Linked DNA regions of Homo sapiens: all the other regions are linked to region 1. The links are contacts of gene promoters, found by promoter capture Hi-C in blood cells and fetal thymus (Javierre and others, 2016). All regions are on one chromosome and are shown on one strand. Each heading gives the region's core, a stretch centred on a gene start or on the middle of the fragment in contact. The rest is flanking DNA. Distances are from core to core; before and after follow the strand shown.

The links. Contacts are between HindIII fragments. The CHiCAGO score rates a contact against its expected background, and 5 or more counts as called.
Region 2: a contact is called between a fragment that was not itself captured here and the fragment with the promoter of SS18 in region 1, in 2 of 17 cell types (non-activated CD4 T cells and naive CD8 T cells). The highest score is 7.5, in non-activated CD4 T cells.
Region 3: a fragment that was not itself captured here is called in contact with the fragment with the promoter of SS18 in region 1 in 2 of 17 cell types (non-activated CD4 T cells and total B cells); the score reaches 5.8 in non-activated CD4 T cells.

The regions. Positions count from the first base shown.
Region 1 is chr18:26,089,091-26,092,090 of GRCh38, reverse strand. SS18 (SS18 subunit of BAF chromatin remodeling complex) reads left to right here and starts at 1,478. Exons shown (of 11, transcript NM_001007559.3): 1 at 1,478-1,590. The coding sequence starts at 1,522. RefSeq lists an enhancer at 1,024-1,143. The HindIII fragment of the contact is 4,894 bases long and covers 1-3,000 here.
Region 2 is chr18:24,419,356-24,422,336 of GRCh38, reverse strand. No RefSeq gene overlaps it. Among named protein-coding and RNA genes, the nearest start is that of IMPACT, 5.8 kb to the left of the region's middle. The HindIII fragment of the contact is 1,777 bases long and covers 389-2,165 here.
Region 3 is chr18:24,392,206-24,395,467 of GRCh38, reverse strand. All of the region lies in intron 1 of OSBPL1A (oxysterol binding protein like 1A), which reads left to right. The region is part of intron 2 of LOC124904268 (a long non-coding RNA gene); the gene reads right to left. Among named protein-coding and RNA genes, the nearest start is that of OSBPL1A, 4.0 kb to the left of the region's middle. The HindIII fragment of the contact is 477 bases long and covers 1,113-1,589 here.

The DNA.
Region 1 (3,000 bases), core at 229-2,728:
GACATTCTTGACATTTTTGTGAAGAGCATTTATTTGATACTTAATTTTTCTTTTTTTTTTTTTGAGACAGGGTCTTGCTGTGTCACCCAGGGTGGAGTGTGGTGGGGCAGTCATGGCTTACTGCAGTCTCCACCCCCTTGGCTCAAGTGATTCTTCCACCTCAGCCTCCTTAGTAGCTGGAACTACAGGTGCACACCACCATACCCAGCCAATTTTTAAAATTCTTGTAGAGACAGAGGTCTCACTTTGTTGCCCAGGCTGGTCTCAAACTCCTGGCCTCAAGTGATTAAATTTTTAAAATAATGTATTTTTTCTTTATTTTTCCAATTTATATAAAAATGGAAATATTTTTTATTATTCATTAACGTTGGGTAACACTTTATATAAACTTTCCCTTTGTGTTATATGGAAGTCTAAATTTACAGAATACTTTAAAACCCCACGGCAACACAAAACCCACATTTGTCCGTGTTCCTTCCATAATTTGAAAACTTTGCCTTTTTCCCTTACACTGACTTGAAGCCTGGCAGCTTGGGCCTAATTTACAAGGCACTAAGTAAGTACTCTCTTAAAAAACAGAGAGTGAGGATGCCCTGTTTCACAACTTAATTCCAAAAAGCCAAGTCAGACGAAATCGACCCACTTTCCTGCTAAGGGTTTGTCCCAAGAGGCGAGCTCTTCTCTGTCCGCTCCAGCCAAGCTGGCCGATTGCCCCTGAGCACTGGACACAACCTTGGTGTCCCGGTTTCGGGTCAGGGTTACTTTCCAATTGTTAGGCACGACTTTGTGCGTGCGTGCGAGACTGTGGACTCGGAGGTGCGCATTTGGGGCGTAGCCGAGCCATTTAAACCAGCGAATCCGCGTTCACCTTGTCCTTCCACCTCTGCCCTATCTCGGCAGATGCTCCACGGATTTGCACGAACTCCCGAGTCTTGACCTCCCTCCCCTCTCCGGGCTGCCGGGACAACTCGGGGCGGCCACTCTTGCCAGGAGGCGTAAGTAAGGATGAAGTTGGAAAAACTGAACTAGGTCTAGGGCACGCTCTGCAACACAGTCGGGGAGACGCTTCAGAGGGCCGGAGAGGGAGGCAAGTTGCCACGGCGCGAAGGGGGCGGGCCGGCTTGGGCCGCTCGCATTTCCTGTGACAGGGGCTGCCCCAGCCTCTCCTTCTCCCGCGGCGGCGGGACCATTTCCTGAATCGCTGAAGCGGAGGGAGGACTAGGGCGCGACTCTACCATTAGCGCAAAGGGCCAGGGGGTGCCCATAAGGAGAGCTCGGGGGATGCAGGGACGGTCAAGAAAGTTCGGCCAGGGCTAGGGGTCCCCCAGAGTGCGCAGAAGCGAGACATCCCTGGCCAGAGTGCCTCCTTCAGGCCTGCCCCGCCGCCCGTCCGCTTGGCCCCGGAGCATCCCCCCTCCCCGCATTCCCGAGGTGGTTCAGCCCGAGAGGCCGGCGTCTCTCCCCCAGTTTGCCGTTCACCCGGAGCGCTCGGGACTTGCCGATAGTGGTGACGGCGGCAACATGTCTGTGGCTTTCGCGGCCCCGAGGCAGCGAGGCAAGGGGGAGATCACTCCCGCTGCGATTCAGAAGGTGAAACCGCGCGGGGTTGCGGATGCCAGGCCCTTACCGCCTCTGGGAGAGACAGACGCGGGGGGAAGGGCCGGGCCCGGAGTCGACCGGGCCGAGGCGGAGGCGGGCCTGCTGGGAATCAGCAGTGTTTGGGAACACGGACTGCTGGCTGTGCCTGAGTGGGTGGCGGAAGAGGGTGAACCGGTTTTTCTCGGAGTCTTTCACGCATTTACGCGTTTTTCTACAGACACAAAAGCCCAAACAGCCGCCGCCTGATTTCTCTAGGGATGGGGCGGCGTTCGGGCTGCGGGGCGCGTGCGCCCGGCGGCGGCCGCTCAGGGAAGGGCGTGTGTCGGACCGGCGGCCCCGCGCGTTGCTCCGGAGTTACTTTGGCGTCGCCCCGCCCCGCGTGCCGCGGCTGCTTCGTGCGGACCCCACCGCGGGTCGCGGCAGGCAGAGGGGAAGTCGGTGCGCTGGTCGCCGCCCTGCAAACTCAGCCGAGTTTGGGAGCTCGCAGGAGGACTTGGGGAACGCTGGAGGGAACCTTAGTATAGAGTTTGAGGAGCGGGCAAGGAAGGTCCCCATGGACTCTGGGGTTGTCCCCAGAGCCTCTTCTTCCCTTCTGCATCGCCGCCTATTCATTTATTCTGCAGCAAATATTTATTGAGCGCCTATTTTAGGCGCTGAGGCTACTGTGGTGAGTCATGGTCCTTGCCTTCCTGGAGCTTACAGTCTAATGGTGGAGACTGTCGTGACCAGTTAATGTAAGTCGTGATAAATACACAGGGAGCTGCCTCCTTTTTAAAGGATAGAGCTGCTGCAGTCGCTGCTGTGTTACTGCCAGTCGGAACACAAAGGTTCTTTATTGTCCTCTACCCCTTGTTGCCTGCAAGCAAGGCAGCATTCTAAATTTTACTGACCTAGACTTTCAGAAGTTGCTGCTGTATTTAGCAGTTTACTTTAAATATTTTTGTTTTGTTTTATGCTGTGTAGCAAAGATCAAAATAGAAAAAAAGGTCAAGTTTTAGTACCACTCAGACCACGTAGATTATGCTAATCGGTTTCTGTTTACTGTCAGGTTCTTCGTAGTGTGGCTTTTGACATTTGCCCAACTGTTGCTTTATTTTATGAACAAACGGGCTTGGCAGTGCCTGGAAATGCAGTGCTTTCATATAGTGCTCTGAGTTAAGTCTGCAGCCTGGCAAACAGCTCCAAGTACGCACTCACGCAAAACTGCGTTTCTGGAGGGCTCACCTTTTTTATTTTTGTACACAGGAAAAGTCCAGAGTTTTTCTTTTTTTTTTATAGTTTCTGTTACATAAGTCTGAAGATATTTATCATGGATAATGATTAATTCGGAGGATGCTGATCAATTATTTTCCATTCTCAGCTGAACAGAAAAATGGGCTCTAAATTAATTGCCTTATTCTA
Region 2 (2,981 bases), core at 28-2,527, 1.7 Mb after region 1:
TCAAGCGATCCTCCTGCCTCAGCCTCCCAAAGTACTGGGATTACAGGCGTGAGCCACAGCGAAGGCCCTTTCCTCTACTTGTTTCTCAACATTCACTCAGGATCAGATTAGTATCGGTGTGATGGTTCTCTGAGCCTCTTCAAGTTCCTTCCCAATTTTCTACAGGCATTTCCCCTAACACATTTCTTGCATATTTAACTTCATTTTGGTATCTTCCTCTCCAAGAAGACTAGAACAAACTGCTCTAGGATACACTGTAACACAGGCAAATTCTGTCCATATGGTTTTGTTAAAATAATTAATTGGGAGGCCATGAGGCTAAGACAGTTCCATTGCCTTGTGTTTCTGAGTAAGCAAACAGAAATAGAACTCAGTGTAAACTTAAGCTTAACCAATCAGAAACCACTAAGTGACATCTAACTAGGGACTTTCTAGTTTAAGCCATCAAATATTTTCTTTATCTTGCTTCTGCAAACACCTTAGAAAAATTTCTCCCTCCCACCAATTTAGTGGAGTGTTGAACTGTTTGAGCTCTGGTGCTGCGTGATTCATGAATAGCTTCATTCTCAAACTCGTGACAATTTTAATGTGTTTATCTTTTAACAATATTAACTTACAATATTATCTGGTTCTGAAATATTTTTCTTAGGGAAATATGTCCTCAAAATATTTTAGAAACAAAACACAAACCATCTTAGTACACAATGATCTTTTCCCTCCTGTTCTCTGTGTGTTTACCTTAGCTCCCAGACAATGAAAGCCAAAATATAGCTGACTACAAGGACAATGAATGCTGAGGCTCTTCCTTCTCTTTGTGCTGTTCATTTGCTTACTCAATAATTTGACCCACTATGGCTGAAGATTAAAATACTGGATATTAAACTATAAGTTTTATGGAGAAGTTCTTGTCAAAGAAGTAATCAAGGAAACAGAGTCAATGTCAAGCAAGCAATTAGGGGAGAGAGAAAATCCTTTAATATTATAATTTCACCATAAGTAACACTGTATCCTGGGAAGATTAGCTGATAATTGTATAAACATAGTTAGAAAAAAATAATAGAGCCTGGCCTGGCATGGTGGCTCATGCCTGTAATCCCAGCACTTTGGGAGGCCGAGGCGGGCGGATCACTTGAGGTCGGGAGTTCAAGACCAGCCTGGCCAACATGGTGAAACCCCATCTCTACTAAAAATACAAAAATTAGCCAGGCATGGTGGCGTGTGTCTGTAATCCCAAATACTCTGGAGGCTGAGGCAGGAGAATCCGGGAGGCGGAGGTTGCAGTGAGCTGAGATCCCACCACTGCACTCCTGTCTGGGTGACAGAGCGAGACTCTGTCTCAAATAAATAAATAAATAAAATAATGGAGCCAGAGGCATTTCCTGACTTCAGGAGATTTGAAGGGAATGGAAGAGTGGCATCTCAGGTGTTATGTTAGAGTTCACCTAGAGAGGAACTGTGCTGTGTGGTAGGGACCCTGTTACACCACCTCCAGTCAGCACCCCCTTTTCAGAAACAGGTACTCCTATCCCCCAAGCAGTTTTGCAAGTACTTCATTGACCGCTACGGCAGGTTTGTTTCCCCAGTAACAGCATGTTCAAACAAGTGTTCCACAGTAATTCATCCGCCTGTAATCCTAGCACTTTGGGAGGCCAATGCAGGTGGATCACTTGAGCTCAGGAGTTTGAGACCAGCCTGGGCAACATGGTGAAACTTCATCTCTACAAAAAACACAAAAATTAGCTGGGCGTGGTGGCTCATGCCTCTAGTCCCAGCTACTTGGGGGGCTGAGGCGGAAGGATCAATTGAGCCCAGGAGGAGGAGGTTGCAGTGAGCCAAGATTGCTCCATTGTACTCCAGCCTGGGCAACAGAGTGAGACTCTGTCTCAAAAAAAGAATTAAATCTGATCTTTTTATTTTTTCATTTTCAAGAAGCATCTTCTTAATGAATAAACTTCTAGAAGGGATAGTTACAAGTTCTTTTGTTAATTATTCATTGAAACTTTAGCAAGGATTGGGTTATAGCCAACGGAGAACAGGTTCTTGGGTGGGAGTGGGAGTGGGTAAAGCCAGAGATAAGCCTTCCTCAGCACCATGCACCCTTAACTGCCACACTTGACTTCCTTACCTCTTTACGTGACATCTCAAATTTTTTCCCTCCAGAAGCTTTTTTGACTAAAAGTAGAAAATGGCCGTATGATTAGCTTCCCCATAACCTCAAAATCAATATTCAGAGGAGATGTGTGTGAAGTCAAAATTGTTGGTTAAGAAATACAAGTTATTTGCTTTTCCCTTTTGCCTCTGAGTGGAATGTTCTTCCCTTAAATCTTCAAATGGCCGTCGTGTGTGTGTGTTTGTGTGTGTGTGTGTCAGTCTCACTCTCACACAGGCTGGAGTGCAGTGACCTGATCTTGGCTCACTGCAACCTCTGCCTCCTGAGCTCAAGTGATTCTTGGGCCTCAGCCTCTCAAGTAGCTGGGATTACAGGTGCTCACCACCACGCCTGGCTAATTTTTGTATGTTTAATAGAGATAGTGTTTCACCGTGATAGCCAGGCTGGTCTCAAACTCCTGATCTCAGGTGATCCGCCCGCCTCGGCCTCCCAAAGTCCTAGGATTGCAAGTGTAAGCCACTGCTCCCGGCCTTTATTTTATTTTATTGTTTTTTTGGACAGTCTGACTCTGTTGCCCAGGCTGGAGTACAGTGGCACAATCTCGGCTCACTTCAACCTCTGCTTCCCAGGTTCAAAAGATTCCCCTGCCTCAGCCTCCCAAGTAGCTGGGACTACAGGCATGTGTCATCACACCTGGCTAATTTTTGTATTTTTAGTGGAGACAGGGTTTCACCATGTTGGCCAGGCTGGTCTCAAACTCCCGGCCTCAAGTGATCCACCCATCTTGGCCTCCCAAAGTGCTAGGATTACAGATGTGCGCCACTGCACCCAACCCAAATGGCCATCTCTTTACCTTTCACTTTTTAACACA
Region 3 (3,262 bases), core at 102-2,601, 1.7 Mb after region 1:
TTTATTTTACTCAGAGATACATCTGTATATCTGATCATAATATTTTTAAGTGGAACTGTGTCAGTTTCTTACCTCTTGACATTACTGGAAGCTGAGCTTTTATACATCATATGTTTTCATTGAGAAAAGTAGTAGGCAGAAAGTAGAAATCAGCCAAATGAATAACTTAGTGGAGAAGAGAGAATATGATATCAAGTGCGTGTGAGAAACTTGATATCCTTCAGAACCTTGTCAGTTCTTCCAAGCTGAGTCTGAACTTTGGCAATCAGAGCTTTTTTGATGACCTAGCAAGTTCTCTGAATTTCCTAGAAAGAGGACAGGTTTTAGCACTGCAGTCACCAGCTTATACTAACAATTCATGAAGTTTAAGAAAAGACACTGTCAGGTAATCTGTATAGTGTATGTATATTTATGATTGTGGTGTCATATAAGTATCTTATGTGATGTTCTTGGTCTCTAGAAATGTTTTTCCTCACGTGGCCTCTGCCACTAATTCTGTGTTGGTACTGTCAGTATTAAGGGGGCTGTGTGAGGTGGGCTAGTATAAGAAATAGTTTTAATGCTATTACTAGGAAGATAAACTAGGTCGCTCACTTTACTTTTATTTATCAGCCTGCAAGTAGGAAATTACTGTATAGTGAAAGCAGTCTTTAACTGTACAATTTCGTATCATGTGACAATGGAAAGTAACCACATGTTTTTACTTTGTGTTTAAAGTTTTTCTTTAAAGAGGTATTTCTGTGATGCATAAATGGTCAGTATTATTATACATGAGTTTAATTGAGTTTGAAAGATAATTTTCAAATGTGAAATAATTGAAATGGGAAAATTTTAATGCATTTTTCTAAAATTTAGGGAATTTTGTCATTAAAAGGTAACAATCAGCCTCCTTGCTAGGATTTTTATTACTAAACTTGATTTGTTAAATTTGTAGGGTTCTCTGCTCTTCATACCTGCTCTGTTTTGAAACAGTAGTAAATAGTTTTCAGAATCTGTCAAATTGAAGTTCAAATCAGGGGTGCATCTAGGAATTAGTGCTTAATTGTTAAAGCAGCTAAAATTATAGCACCAAAGTTATTTTAAACAACTTCATTAAGCAAAGCTATGAAGCTTATTTAATTTTTACTAATTTTAAGAAACATTAAAATTTCCAACCGAATATGGGTAAGATAAATACCTGGTGATATGGTTGGTTTTTTATTATGTCCGTATGGTATCCAAGTTGGTGTGGGTATGGAATGGATATGAATAAGAGAAGGTAATGTAAATTTATCAAATATAAAGTAAATAATAATTTGGTATAAACATTTTATGATTTCAATGCTTTATAAACCATTAGATGACACATAATTGTGGCCAATTCTCCATCATTTCTCCTGTGGGAGATGAATGCTTTTTATTAGGGCACAAAAACTTATTGAGGAAGTTAGAGAAAAAGTTTCACTGAATTAAAAATTAAGTGATTAAAATTTTGTCTTATAACTTAAAACGATACAGGTTAGTGCTTCCCAAAATAGGCTTTATAATTTGCTCCTGTTTTCCTTAAATTGCCATGTTTTAGGTATTCTTTTCAGTTAATAAATAAAGCTTTTTAAAATGAGGCACTCAAAACATAATTCAGATTCAAATTCCTCAGTGCTTACACAGGAACACTAATGAGAATCAATGGCATTTAACTTTTGCAGCTGAATTGAATTTTATAAAATACATAGCAATGCCAGGTGCAGTGGCTCACACCTGTAATCCCAGCACTTTGGGAGGCCGAGATGGGCGGATCACGAGGTCAGGAGATGGAGACCATCCTGGCTAACACAGTGAAACCCCGGCTCTACTAAAAACTACAAAAAATTAGCCAGGCGTGGTGGCGGGCAGCTGTAGTCCCAGCTACTTGGGAGGCTGAGGCAGGAGAATGGTGTGAACCCGGGAAGAGGAGCTTGCAGTGAGCGGAGATCGTGCCACTGCACTCCAGCCTAGGCGACAGAGCGAGACTCCGTCTCAAAAAAAATAAAAATAAAAATAAATAAATAAAAATAAAATACGTTGCATTATTTCACCCCTTCTACATTCTGGCTGTGACTCTACTGTTAATACTTGGCAAGTAACTTTGCCTTTGGGCTTTTCAGTTGCTTCAGCTCTAGAATCAGAGTGTTAGATTAATGAATTCGTTTACCAATGTTCAGTTTCTAAAACAAGCAAAAAATGCATTTGTTTATGTCATCACAAATGTCAGTTTTCTGTATACATAATATGTGTATCTATGCACATGTGTGCATAATGTATACACATGTACATACATGTAGGTATATGATTGCATCAGAGAAATTACTGATTGCTAGCAACTAATCATAGTTAGAGCAAATAAGTATTTTTTTTTTGCCATTGCCATGTTTTTATGTAGTTACTTTAATCTTTAATACCTTGCTGGTATTAAAAGAATATAACGTCAGGAGAAAACACACCATTAAGCAGCTAACTACAGGCTGGGCGAGGTGGCTCATGCCTGTAATTCCAGCACGTTGGAAGGCAAGGCAGGATAATTCCTTAAGGCCAGGAGTTCGAGACCAGCCTGGGCAATGTAGCCAGACCACATCTCTATAAAAGATACAAAAATTAGCTGGGTATGGTGGCGTGCACCTGTGGTCCCAGCTACTCAGGAGGCCAAGATGGGAGGATTGCTTGAGTCCAGGAGTTTGAGGCTGCAGTGAGCCACGATTGTGCCACTGCACTCCATCCTGGGCAATTGACTGAGACCCTGTTTCAAAAAAGCAGCTAACTACTTTGGAGCGCAGGGCTAAGCACGGTACTGGTTTTTATGTTTTTAAGATTTAGTTTATAGGATGTGTTTGTTCATAGACATTTAATTTTTCTCATTCAAATTTCTAGCATACAATGTATTTTAAATATTAATGTAACATTCATAAAATCAGTATCTGAGAATTTAAAAACTAATCGCAACATATATTTTTAATAATTTTTGAATAGTCTCCCTTTGTCTTTATTAGAGTATAGGGCCGGGTGTGGTGGCTCACGCCTGTAATCTCAGCACTATGGGAGGCCGAGGTGGGCAGATCACCTGAAGTCAGGAGTTTGAGACCAGCCTGACCAACATGGAGAAACCCCATCTCTACTAAAAATATAAAATAGCCAGGCATGGTGGCACATGCTTGTAATCCCTGCTACTCGGGAGGCTGAGGCAGGAGAATCACTTGAACCCGGGAGGCGGAGGTTGCGGTGAACCGAGATGGCGCCATTGCACTCCAGC